Linked DNA regions of Homo sapiens: region 2 is linked to region 1. Evidence: promoter capture Hi-C in 16 types of primary human blood cells and fetal thymus (Javierre and others, 2016). All regions are on one chromosome and are shown on one strand. The core of a region is centred on a gene start or on the middle of the fragment in contact, and the rest is flanking DNA. Distances in the headings are between cores, read along the strand shown. Region 1 holds the start of CEP97 (centrosomal protein 97). Region 2 has its middle 210 kb from the start of ZPLD1.

Region 1 (6,897 bases), core at 638-3,137:
TTTCAAGTTAAAGAACAGTAGAGCATAATAAATATCAACATTGTAAAATTAAAGCAATCTTGAGTTCTAAATGACCAGATTGAATTACTCATTTTTCTTCAGAAATATCAAATTAAAACTAGACGTGTGATATTCTCCTCAAGTTGCTAAGATATACTTTGAAAATTTTCACATTTAAATATGGACGATTACTTCCATTTGTTGTGCCTAAGTAATGATACTATTGTTTAAATGTTACTAAACTTTTGACTGCAATCCACCAGCTTACAGCCTAACTACCAATATATCCTAAAGTGCCCAAACTGTGATTTTGAAAATCAAAGTATAGTTCAACTAATTCTCCCATAAAATAGGATAATACACCCATTTCCCTAGCTTGATATGAGAATTAAAAGAGAAACCATATGAATAGTACTTAGCCCCGTTCCTGCCACCGGGCACTCAATAAGGCACTTTAGTATAACATAGACGTTCAAACCCTGGCTCCACCAATTAACCATTGTGGTATATTAGGCAAATTATTGATTTCTTTTGGGCTCCCTTTTCTACTCTGTAAAGTGGGGATAATACCTGCCTTATAAATGTAGTTCTACAGAGAAAATGAGATAATGTAAAAAAAAAAACAAAAAAAAAAAGGACTGAGAACATCGCCTGGGTCATACAAAGTGCTCTGTAAATGTTAACTGCTATTAACAGTTAAGTAGCCCTGGTGGGCTTGAGAGGTGTGGTTTAAGAAAAGCCGATCTCCAAAGAGGGCGGGGCCAGAGAAACGGCCAATTTCAAATTTACACCCAGATTAGGACTACTGCAGGAAATAATTATGCCAGATTGCTCTCCTGGAGGATTTCAACGTTTTCCCGTTGTCTAATGGCTCTTAGCATGTGAGGAGTCGTGAGCCCCTCTGAAAAATTGATGAAAGGGGTGTGCTGTCTCAGAAAAGTGCACAGCCTTTGTACACAATTCCAAGGGGTCGACAGAGAGGTCTGAGAACCATCCACCAACTCTTCCCCCAAGAATTTACAGCTCCCAGAAAATGCACTCCTGGTCTAAGCCATGAAGACGGGCCTCGACCCCTGGGCCCTGTCCCCGATTTAGAGGACTGACTGCTGCCAAGCCTCGGAGCTGTAACCAAAACAAAAGCAGCTCGCGTCCGGCGCCCCAAAGAGGTAGGTATCTTCAGGCCACAGAAGCACCCACACAGTCCTGTGCTCTACTGGGCAGCGACCAAACTCGATCCTAGGACCCGTGTGCAAGAACAAGGAGTACAGAACTGCGGGCTCTGGATCATCCCTTAGATTTTATCACGGCCACTGGCCACCTCCGAGGAAGGGTTCAAAGCCAGACTAGGCAGCGGTCTCTGAGGGAAGGTTTTCCTGATGGTTCCAGGAACCAAGAAGAGAGGGAGATGTGTGAAGCGAAAGAGGGAGATCCCAAACATTTCGCTTAGGCACCCATGACTCAAAGTAAATGGTCAAGAAAGGTCATCGCAGCCCGAAATCCACCGCCTCCTCAGCATCGGGAGCGCGGGAGCCAGGGCGCCGGGCCGCGCGAAGGCTTCTGGGGGCTGTAGTCCCCCGCTCGGCCCTCACCGCGACGCCGGAGAGCTGGGAACGGCAGGTGAACTACAACTCCCAGAGGGTAGCCCGCCTCCGCGACGACCACAGATCCGCATCAAAAGAACTGGTCCAGAACTGCACATCTAAACCTAGGTTTTCTGCTCTCCACTATTTAATTCAGCTCCGTGAAGTAAACCTTAGGACTCGGGGTAGGGATCGCCTTACCTTCTCCGGGAGGCAAAGCCGCGTCCACGCGCGCCACCGCCATATTTGCTGCTTGCTAATAATACCAGGCAACCGTCCTCCCGCGGCTCTGTGGAGCTTGTAATCTGAAGGAGGGAGCCGGAAACTATAACTCCCAGGATGCACGGCTCCCAGACGGCCCAATTGGCTGCTTACGCCTAATGATGTGAAGCTGGAGTTAGAATCTGAGGGTAGTGAGCTCAGGGACCCTGGCCCACTCGCTTATTTGACAGATGAGTCAACTGCGTTATTAGATGATCATTTCACTTCCTTGTCCAGGCGTTTGCGAAATTTGACACTTTTACCATCGGGATGATTGTAAGGAAGCTACTTAATGCAGACTGCATTTTACAACTCATTGCTGGAAGTCTCTGTGGGGGCTGCTCCATTCTTTTGATAATTGTGAATAAGTTGAAAGTTTTCAACTCCGCTATAGGAATGACCGATCTTGTTGAGATCATAAAAGTGGATACATTTTATTTGAAATTTTAGTTAAGTAAAAGTAAAGTATGCCGAAATAGAAACTTTTATACAGTATTTTTAAGTGATTGTTTGATTGTTCTTGAATATTTGACAAATCTTTTGACTTACGGGTATAAGTATGAACCAAGAACTTTTCCAGGGAGTATTCAAAATAACTTTAAAATATAATCTCCAGGCCGGGCGCAGTGGTTCACGTCTGTAATCCCAGCACTTTGGGAGGTCAACGCAGGCTGATCACCTGAGGTCGGGAATTCGAGACCCGCCTGGCCAACATGGAGAAACCCCGTCTGTAGTAAAAATACAAAAAAATTAGCCTGGCGTGGCGGCGCATGCCTGTAATCCCAGGTACTCGGGAGGCTGAGGCAGGAGAATCGCTTGAACCCGGGAGGCAGAGGTTGCAGTGAGCCGATATCATGCCACTGCACTCCAGCCTGGGCAACAAGAGCGAAACTATGTCTCAAAAATATATATATTTTATATAGATATTGCATATATTATAATTATATATAAATTATATATTATATATGTTATATATTTAGATATTATATATTATATGTTATATATTTAGATATTATATATTATATATGTTATATATTTAGATATTATATATTATATATGTTATATATTTAGATATATTATATATGTCATATATTTATATATTATATATTATATATGTTATATATTTAGATATTATATATTATATATGTCATATATTTAGATATTATATATTATATATGTTATATATTTAGATATTATATATTATATATGTTATATATTTAGATATATATGTTATATGTTATATATTTATATATTATATATGTTATACATTTATATATTATATATGTTATATATTTATATATTATATATTATATATGTTATATATTTATATATTATATATTATATATGTTATATATTTATATATTATATATTATATATGTTATATATTTATATATTATATATTATATATGTTATATATTTATATATTATATATGTTATATGTTATATATTATATATGTTATATATTTATATATTATATGTGTTATATATGTTATATATTATATATTATATATGTTATATATATTATATATTATATATTATATATGTTATATATTATATATTATATATGTTATAGATTTATATATTATATATTATATATGTTATATATTTATATATTATATATTATATATGTTATATATTTATATATAAATATAGATTATGTATATAAATATATTTTTATATAGTCTCCAAATTCAAGAAATACATTGCCTAGTTGGAAGAAAGCAGGCTCACACTTTTTTCTTTTTTTTTTTTTAGAGACAATTTTTTTTTGCCCAGGCTGGCCTTGAACTCCTGAGCTCAAGTGATCCTTCTGCCTCAGCCCGGCAAAGTGCTGGGATTACAAGCGTGAGCAACGGCGCCGAGCCTTCTTTTGATGCAACTATTATATGCTAAACGGTGTGATTGTGACTGAGCTCACTAATATTTCAGGGAATTGAGAAAGAAATAGAATCTGAAATCTTCAGTGAAGACTTGATGGAGGAAGTAAATGTACCCATCTTTTGATGGGTAGACTGAACAGTTAGTTCTAAAGTAAAAGGTGAAAAGACAGCACAGGCTGCAGGTGGTAACGAAGTTGTGCTCACAGGAAGTGAGAAACTAAACAGAGTATACAAAAAACTTCTGCTTTCTACTACCAGCTCTCCCACTTCCTCTTGCAACCTTTATTCTGAACTCCCCTCTTTCTGAAACAGCAATCTGCAAAGTCTGATCATTTTTGCTTGGGAAAATCTAGTAATTCATGCTTCTAGATTTCCAGGCACTGGATTCTCTGAGCATTCCCCCTTTCCTGGGTTCTCCTATCTCTCTACACTTGTTTTAACTCCTTTCGATTCTTGTTTCCTGCTGCTTTGGTCTAAAGACAAATTTCCTAGTTCTGAAGGGGCAATTAAGACTAGGATTTTTTTCCTTTTAACCAAGAAACTCCTTACCTAGAGAACACAATCTTACTATATGTGTAAGAACAAAGTAAGGCCGGGCGCGGTGGCTCACGCCTGTAATCCCAGCACTTTGGGAGGCCGAGGCGGGAGGATCACCTGAGGTCAGGGGTTTGAAACCAGCCTGGCCAACATGGCGAAACCCCATCTCTACTAAAAATACAAAATTAGCTGGGCATAGTTGCACATGCCTGTAATCCCAGCTACTTGGGAGGCTGAGGCAGGAGAATCGCTTGAATCTAGGAGGCGGAGGTTACAGTGAGCGGAGATTGTGCCACTGCACTCCAGCCTGGGCAACACGAGCAGAACTCTGTCAAAAAAAAAAAAAAGTAAGGAAAGAAAGAAAAGAAAGAAAGAGAAAAGAAAACAAAAGAAGAAGAACAAAGCAAGCCTGAATACTGCCTCTGCTAACCCTTATTCCCTGGAATAGGCCATAGGGATCTGGGAGAAAGGGTTTATGGTTCTTTACAATTTAGCATGGTAATTACTTGATAGGGAGTCCTGGAAGCTTAAAAGGTACTTAAGAAGCAGAGGTTCCTGCAAGTTTACAGCAATAGCTGAAACATTGTTTGCCTGGTTCATCTGCCCTGGAATCCAGAGGAAAGGACCAAAGGACTTTTTTTATGCAGCTAAGTATAGTCACGGCTTTTAAAGTAAGTAGCCAGATGTTCCTGGGCAAGGTCTCACATGCCCAAGTGACTCAGCAACGCTTTAAAATTACTGCACAGAAATTCTTTTGTGCTTCAAATAATAGCTTTTACGCCTAAAATCAAATTGCTACACTTTAAACTGCCTCATTTTGTATATATGTTAAACTCTATAAGCTCAAACCAAATTAGGATTCTACTACTTAAAACTATGAACCTCTCAGTAAGGTAATGTTTCTCTGGCAGGCCCAGGCCCTATGAGAAAGACTTTCCTATCAGCACAGTATACTTAATCCCTACGACAGCTGATTACCCCGATCTTTGCCATCTCTAATTCATCTGCCCACAGTTACTGGCATGATCTAAGTAAAACAATGCCTTTTAGCATGTTATTCCCCTCTCAAAAACTTCTCACTTTAAGTTCAACTTGCAAGGGCCACCATAATGTGGCTTCACCCTACCTCCCACCGTTCATCCTACTCGTTTTCATTTGGTGTTTTTGAGTGAGGGATTGATATAATGATACTTGTGTTGTAGAAAGGTTAAACTCATATAACAAGGATGAATTGAAAGTAATAATAGAATTGAAAGGAAGAAGGCAGGAAGGAGATTGTCGTAATAGAGCCTGGTAACCTTCAACAGCGGTTTCAGGAGAGTATTATAAACAAGTTTAGATAACACGAAGTTAAGAGACTAGGTAGACAAGAAACTGGAACATTTGTGGATGGTGCAATTTACCTTGAGAAAATGAAGGTGGTTTTCTAATTAGGATTGAAATCATATTTGAAAGAAGTAAATGTAACTTTGAAGTTTTCATTCAAGTTTTAAAATGAAGAAGTTACTAATGTAAAGAATTTTGACACTGTAAAGATTTGGAAAATATGCGAATATTTTAACAATAAAAAAACCTTTTTTTTTTTTTGACACAGGGTCTTGGTTTGTTGCCCAGACTCGAGTGCAGTGGTACAGTCCTGGCTCACTGCAGCCTCGACCTCCTGGGCTTAAACAATCCTCCCACTTCAGCCTTCTGAGTAGCTGAGACTACAGGTGCACACCACCACACCTGGCTAATTTTGGTTTTTTTTGTAGACAGAGGTCTCACCATGTCGCAATCCTCCTGCCTTGGCCTCCCAAAGTGCTGGGATTATAGACGGCCACCATGCCTGGTTTAACAATAAAAAATCTTCATGCAAAGGTTTAGGTGCATAAAATTATAAATATCTCCTTTCTTGATTAATATTCATGTGTAGACTCTTCCGGTCCTGCTTCCTTATCTATAACCTATGGCATGGAAAGAGAGATTGCCAATATTCACAGGTTATCCAGATGGCCCAAATGAGATTAACTTTCCTCAGTTATTATTATTATTATTTATCTCCTGCTATGTGGTAGGCTTTGTGATAACTAGTTTACATATATTGGTTCTAAATTTCACAAAATCCCTACAAGTAGATGCCAAGAGGTTATGTTACAGTTGTTGGAAACAATATAGGACACCCAGTTAAACTTGAATTTCAGATAACAATGAATAATGTTTTAGTATAAGTATGTCCCAAGTATTCATGTTGCAATATACATCTTATGCAATACTTACATGCAATATTTAGGACATAGCTATATATAAAAAAGTGTTGTTTATCCAAAATTCAAATTCAACTGGTGTCTCATATTTTTATTTGCATTTATATTTATCTTGTTAATTTCCAGCAACCTAAAAAGAAGGACAGACAGAATTTTGGTTTTGTTTGTTTGCTTTTTGAGATGGAGTCTTGCTCCATAGCCCAGGCTGGAGTGCAGTGGCGCAATCTCAGCTTACTGCAACCTCTGCCTACAGGTGCCCACCACCATGCCTGGGTAACATTTGTTTCTGTTTTGTTTTGTTTTGTTTTGTTGAGACAGGGTCTCACCCTGTCACCCAGACTGCAGTGCAGTGGCGTGATCTCAGCTCACCGCAACCTCTGGCTCCTGGGTTCA
Region 2 (7,216 bases), core at 4,496-6,995, 490 kb before region 1:
GTCTCAGACTAGTTAAGCAGTTTTCAATTTTCATCGCATTAAACCTCTCATCAGCATTCAACACCTTACTGCTTTCTTGAGCCATGTCTCTGAGTTTCAGTAGCACTACACCCTCATTTTTCCATGATCCCTTCTTCTCATTCTCCTCAGGAACATTAGGTTGGTCAGGCTTAGTCCTGAGCAACTCTTCTTTTCTTACTCTGTGGTCTCTCTTTCATTTGTCTCCTTTATTCTCCAAGTTTTAAATATTATCTATGGAAAACGGCTGAATAGGAACAGCTCTGGTCTGCAGATACCAGCGGGACCAACGCAGAAACTGGGTGATTTCTGCATTTCCAACTGAGGCACCCGGTTTATCTCATTGGGACTGGTTAGACAGTGGGTACAGCACACGGAGGTTGAGCAAAAGCAGGGTGGGGCGTTGCCCCACCCAGGAAGTGCAAGGGGCCCGGGGCCTCCCTCCCCAGCCAAGGGAAGCTGTGAGGGACTGTGCTAACCGGCCCAGATACTACACTTTTCCCACGGTTTTTGCAACCAACAGACCAGGAGATTCCCTCGGGTGACTACACCACCAGGGCCCTGGGTTTCAAGCACAAAAGTGGGCAGCTGTTCAGGCAGACACCAAGCTAGCTGCAGGAGTCTTTTTTTTGTACCCCAGTGTTGCCTGGAACTCCAGCGAGACAGAACCGTTCACCCCTTTGGAAAGGGGGCTGAAGCCAGGGAGCAAAGTGGTCTTGCTCGGTAGGTCCCACTCCCATGGAGCCCAGCAAGCTAAGAATCACTGGCTTGAAATTCTCACTGCCAGCACAGCAGTGTGAAGTTGACCTGGGGTGATCCAGCTTGGTCAGGGGCGAGGCATTCACCATTACTGAGGCTTGAGTAGGTGGTTTTCCCCTCACAGTGTTAAGGAAGCCAGGAAGTTCGGACTGGGGGGAGCTCACCTCAGCACAACAAAGTGGCTTGGGCCAGACTGCCTCTCTAGATGCCTCCTCACTGGGCAGAGCATCGCTGAAAGAAAGGCAGCAGCCCCAGTCAGGGGCTTATAGACAAAACTCCCATCTCCCTGGGACAGAGCACCTGGGGGAAGGGTGGCTGTGGGCGCAGCTTCAGCAGACTTAAATGTTCCTACTTGCCATCTCTGAAGACAGCAGCAGATCTCCCAGCACAGCCCTCAAGCTCTGCTAAGGGATAGACTGCCTCCTCAAGTGGGTTACTGACCCCTATGCTTCCTGACTGGGAGACACCTTCCAGCAGGAGTGGACAGACACCTCATACAGGAGAGCTCTGGCTGGCATCAGGCAGGTCCTCCTCTGTGATGAAGCTTCCAGAGGAAGGAGCAGGCAGCAATCTTTGCAGTTTTGCAGCCTCTGCTGGTGATACCCAGGCAAACAGAGTCTGGAGTGGACCTCCAGCAAACTCCAGCAGACCTGCAAAAGAGGGGCCTGATTGTTAAAGGAAAAACTAACAAAGAGAAAGCAATAACATTGACATCAACAAAAAAGATGCCCACACAAAAACCTCATCAAAAGGTCATCAGCATCAAAGATTAAAGGTAGATAAATCCACAAAGATGACGAAAAAACAGAACAAAAATGCTGAAGATTCCAAAAATCAGAATGCCTCTTCTCCTCCAAATGATAACAACTCTTCTCCAGCAAGGGCACAAAGCTGGATGGAGAATTAGTTTGACAAATTGACAGAAGTAGGCTTCAGTAGGTGGGTAATAGCAAACTCCTCTGAGCTAAAAGAGCATGTTCTAACCCAAAGCAAGGAAGCGAAGAACCTTGATAAAAGGTTACGGAAACTGCTAACTAGAATCACAAGTTTAGAGAGGAATATAAACGACCTGATGGAGCTGAAAAACACAGCACAAGAACTTGTGAAGCACACACAAGTAGCAGTAGCCGAATCAATCAAATGGAAGAAAGGATATCAGAGATTGAAGATCAACTTACTGCAATAAGGCATGAAGACAAGATTAGAGAAGAAAGAATAAAATGGAATGAAAAAACTCTCCAAGAAATAGGGGACTATGTGAAAAGACCAAACCTATGATTGATTGGTATACCTGAAAGTGACGGGAAGAATGGAACCAAGTTGGAAAACACTCTTCAGGATATTATCCAAAAGAACTTCCCCAACCTAGAAAGACAGGCCAACATTCAAATTCAGGAAATACAGACAACATTACTAAGATACTCCTTGAGAAGAGCAACTCCAAGACACATAATCATCAGATTCTCCAAGCTGAAATGAAGGAAAAAATGTTAATGGTAGCTAGAGAGAAAGGTCAGTTTACCTACAAACGGAAGCCCATCAGACTAACAGCAGATCTCTCTCCAGTAACCCTACAAGCCAGAAGAGAGTGGGAACCAACATTCAACATTCTTAAAGTAAAGAATTTTCAACCCAGAATTTCATAATCCAGCCAAACTAAGCTTCATAAACGAAGGAAATATAAAATCCTTTACAGACAAGCAAATGCTGGGGGATTTTGTCACCACCAGGCCTGCCTTACAAGAGCTCCTTAAGGAAGCACTAAATATGGAAAGGAAAAACCAATAATAGGCAGAGAGCCAAATCATGAGCGAACTGCCATTCACAATTGCTTCAAAGAGAATAAAATACTTAGGAATACAACTTACAAGGGATGTGAAGGACCTCTTCAAGGAAAACTACAAACCACTGCTCAAGAAAATAAGAGAGGACGCAAACAAATGAAAAAACATTCCATGCTCAATGATAGGACGAATCAATATCGTGAAAATGGCCATACTACCCAAAGTAATTTATAGATTCAAAGCTATTCCCATCAAGCTACCATTGACTTTCTTCACAGAATTAGAAAAAATTTACTTAAAATTTCATATGGAACCCAAAAAGAGCTCGTATAGCCAAGACAATCTTAAGCAAAAAGAACAAAGCCAGAGGCCTCATGCTACCTCATTTCAAACTATACTACAAGGCTACAGTAACCAAAACAGCATTCTACTTGTATCGAAACAGATATATAGATAAATGGAACAGAACAGAGGCCTCAGAAATAACACCACACATCTACAACCACCTGATCTTTGACAAACCTGACAAAACAAGCAACGGGGAAAGGATTCCCTATTTAATAAATGGTGCTGGGAAAATTGGCTAGTCATATGCAGAAAACTGAAACTGGATCCCCTCCTTACACCTTATACAAAAATTAACTCAAGATTCATTAAAGACTTAAACATAAAACCTAAAACCATAAAAACCCTAGAAGAAAACCTAGGCAATACCATTCAGGACATAGGCATAGCCACAGACTTCATGACTAAAACACCAAAAGCAATGGCAACAAATGTCAAAATTGACAAATGGGATCTAATTAAACTAAAGAGCTTCTGCACAGCAAAAGAAACTACCATCAGAGTCAACAGGCAACCTACAGAATGGGAGAAAATTTTTGCAATCTATCCATCTGACAAAGGGCTAACATCCAGAATCTTCAAGGAACTTAAACAAATTTACAAGAAAAAAACAAACAATCTCATCAAAAAGTGGGCAAAGGATATGAACAGACGCTTTTCAAAAGAAGACATTTATGCAGCCAACAAACATGAAAAAAAACTCATTATCACTGGTTATTAGAGAAATGCAAATCAAAACCACAATGAGATACCTTCTCACGCCAGTTAGAATGGAGATTATTAACAAGTCAGGAAACAACAAATGCTGGAGAGGATGTGGAGAAATAGGAACGATTTTACACTGTTGGTGGGAGTGTAAATTAGTTCAACCATTATGGAAGACAGTGTGATGATTCCTCAAGGATCTAGAACCAGAAATACCATTTGACCCAGCAATACCATTACTGGGTATATACCCAAAGGATTATAAATCATTCTGCTATAAAGACACATGCATACATATGTTTATTGCAGCACTATTCACAATAGCAAAGACTTTGAACGAACCCAAATGCCCATCAACGATAGACTGGATTAAGAAAATGTGGCACATATACACCATGGAATACTATGCAGCCATAAAAAAGAATGACTTCATGTCCTTTGCAGGGACATGGATGAAGCTGGAAACCATCATTCTCAGCAAACTAACAGCACAGAAACAGAAAAACAAACACTGTATGTTCTCATTCATAAGTGGGAGTTGAACAATGAGAACACATGGACACAGGAAGGGGAACATCATTCACTGAGGCCTGTCGGGGGTTGGGGGGCAAGGGGAGGGAGAGCATTAGGACAAATACCTAATGCAGACAGGGCTTAAAACTTAGATGACAAGTTGATGGGTGCGGCAAACCACCATGGCCCATGTATACCTATGTAACAAACCTACATGTTCTGCACATGTATCCCAGAATTTAAAGTATAATTTTAAAAAGAAAGAAAAAAGAAGCTGGCAAAGAAGTAAAAAAAATAAATATTATCTATGATATATATATTTCCAAATCTATGTCTCTAAACCACAACCCCTTTTTTGAGTTACAGGCTTATTCATCCAAATGTTAACATGTTGTTTCCGTCTTGATATTTCCACAGCTGAATGCTTTATCTTCTCACCCAAATCTACCTCTACAGTCGTCCTCATTTAAGTATACGACCCCCCTAGAAAATTGTTTCACCTTCAAATTCCTCTCTCTTTTCTCCACCATTAAACCAATCAAACAGAAACTAGTGTAGAATCTATCCTCAAAATGTATCTTGAGCCCATTGCTTCTATATTCAAAAATATAAATAAAATTATAAACAATGAGAAAAAAATTGAACATTAAATATTTAATAATATTGGAAATTTATTGTTAATTTTGTATGTAGTCAGTATTACAATCATTTTTAAAGATATGCACTGAACCATATAGATAAAATTATATGTTGTCTAGAAATTGATTTAAAATAATCTGAAGTATAGGTAAGTAGGGAGGCATAGATGAAATAAGATATGCCATACAGTGATAATTATTGAAGCTGGAAGATAAGCACATCAGGTTCATTATGTTCTATTTTTGTCTATGTGTATAAAATTTCATAATAAAGTTATACATAAATTTTTAAATGGGTTGCCTCAAACAATGTAAGGAAACAAGATAATGTTATACTTTATAGATGTATTTCAATAAGTTCTTTGTCAGCCATATGATGTGGTAAAAACAACGGCCATTTACCCTGACATTAATTGCATAAAATGATTCAAAATTATCAAGAAGACTCTATGAAATATAGTTTATATCCACTATCTTTAAAGATTAGTCTTTCTCTAAGTAGATTTTGTACTTTAAAATATTAATGATCATTTTAAAGCCATCAAAATTACTAAGGCATAAATCACCATACAGAATTATGAAGACAAATATCAACAGGTTTTTTTAATAGTGGTTCAAAGTATCATGCAATAACTAACCCAGGACTTCACAATATTTCATTAAATATGTAATAAATATTTAATCTCCTACCTAAGGATTAAAGAAAAACTATATACCATTGGGAAACATTGTTCTTTCTACAGTAAATGCATCTGGAAAATAAAACACCTGGGAAATAAAACAGGTACAAATTATAATGCATTCTTTTGTTAGAAAATACTATTGGAAGACACAAAAACCTTGAGGATTTAAAGAAATAAATATTACCTGGTGTGGGAAGTTTGTTATACAATTGGATAAAAGTATATCTGTTTTTCAGCTTATGATATATTCTAGTATTCTAGACTTTTTCCAATGATTTTATATATATATAAATATAAATAAATATATATAAAACACTAACTTTATTGAGAATAACAAAAAGTATATTCAATGATCTTTTCTACTTATAAATTATTTCTCTAATGTATGTATAAAAATTTTAAACTACTTGTTGATGGAGTAACAGCTTTGACTATAATAAGAAAGAATAATAATTTCCAGAGTAAGTTGTAGAGAGAGCAAATCACATGAAATTTTGGCACTCCATTGTTCAAAGACAAAGCAGATGAAAATACAGCAAAGCAGGTGAAAAAGAAGTGCACAGAGTGCTACCAAATGTCATTGATGTAACTGATTTTACAAAAACAAGATCTTTTTTTTTTTATTAAAGTTTTAGGGTACATGTGCACATTGTGCAGGTTAGTTACATATGTATACATGTGCCATGCTGGTGCGCTGCTCCCACCAACTCGTCATCCAGCATTAGGTATATCTCCCAATACTATCCCTCCCCCCTCCCCCCCACCCCACAACAGTCCCCAGAGTGTGATATTCCCCTTCCTGTGTCCATGTGATTTCATTGTTCAGTTCCCACCCATGAGTGAGAATATGCAGTGTTTGGTTTTTTGTTCTTGCAATAGTTTACTGAGAATGATGACTTCCAATTTCATCCATGTCCCTACAAAGGACATGAACTCATCCTTTTTTATGGCTGCATAGTATTCCATGGTGTATATGTGCCACATCTTCTTCATCCAGTCTATCATTGTTGGACATTTGGGTTGGTTCCAAGCCTTTGCTATTGTGAACAATGCCACAACAAACATACGTGTGCATGTGTCTTTATAGCAGCATGATTTATAGTCCTTTGGGTATATACCCAGTAATGGGATGGCTGGGTCAAATGGTACTTCCAGTTCTAGATCCCTGAGGAATCGCCACACTGACTTCCACAAGGGTTGAACTAGTTTACAGTCCCACCAACAGTGTAAAAGTGTTCCTATTTCTCCACATCCTCTCCAGCACCTGTTGTTTCCTGACTTTTTAATGATTGCTATTCCAACTGGTGTGAGATGGTATCTCATTGTGGTTTTGATTTGCATTTCTCTGATGGCCAGTGATGATGAGCATTTTTTCATGTGTTTTTTGGCTGCATAAATGTCTTCTTTTGAGAAGTGTCTGTTCATGTCCTTCGCCCACTTTTTGATGAGGTTGTTTGTTTTTTTCTTGTAAATTTGTTTGAGTTCATTGTAGATTCTGGATATTAGCCCTTTGTCAGATGAGTAGGTTGCAAAATTTTCTCCCATTTTGTAGGTTGCCTGTTGACTCTGATGGTAGTTTCTTTTGCTGTGCAGAAGGTCTTTAGTTTAATTAGATCCCATTTGTCAATTTTGGCTTTTGTTGCCATTGCTTTTGGTGTTTTAGACATGAAGTCCTTGCCCATGCCTATGTCCTGAATGGTAAAGCCTAGGTTTTCTTCTAGGGTTTTTATGGTTTTAGGTCTAACGTTTAAGTCTTTAATCCATCTTGAAT

What was found. Contacts are between HindIII fragments. The CHiCAGO score rates a contact against its expected background, and 5 or more counts as called.
Region 2: a contact is called between a fragment that was not itself captured here and the fragment with the promoter of CEP97 in region 1, in 1 of 17 cell types (total CD4 T cells). The highest score is 5.4, in total CD4 T cells.

Annotation. Positions count from the first base shown.
Region 1 is chr3:101,719,604-101,726,500 of GRCh38, reverse strand. It overlaps CEP97 (centrosomal protein 97), which reads right to left and starts at 1,887. Exons shown (of 11, transcript NM_024548.4): 1 at 1,782-1,887. The coding sequence starts at 1,824. RefSeq lists enhancers at 409-1,020, 1,192-1,261, 1,542-1,911, 4,048-4,107. The HindIII fragment of the contact is 6,095 bases long and covers 1-4,786 here.
Region 2 is chr3:102,216,572-102,223,787 of GRCh38, reverse strand. No RefSeq gene overlaps it. Among named protein-coding and RNA genes, the nearest start is that of ZPLD1, 210 kb to the left of the region's middle. The HindIII fragment of the contact is 6,610 bases long and covers 2,441-7,216 here.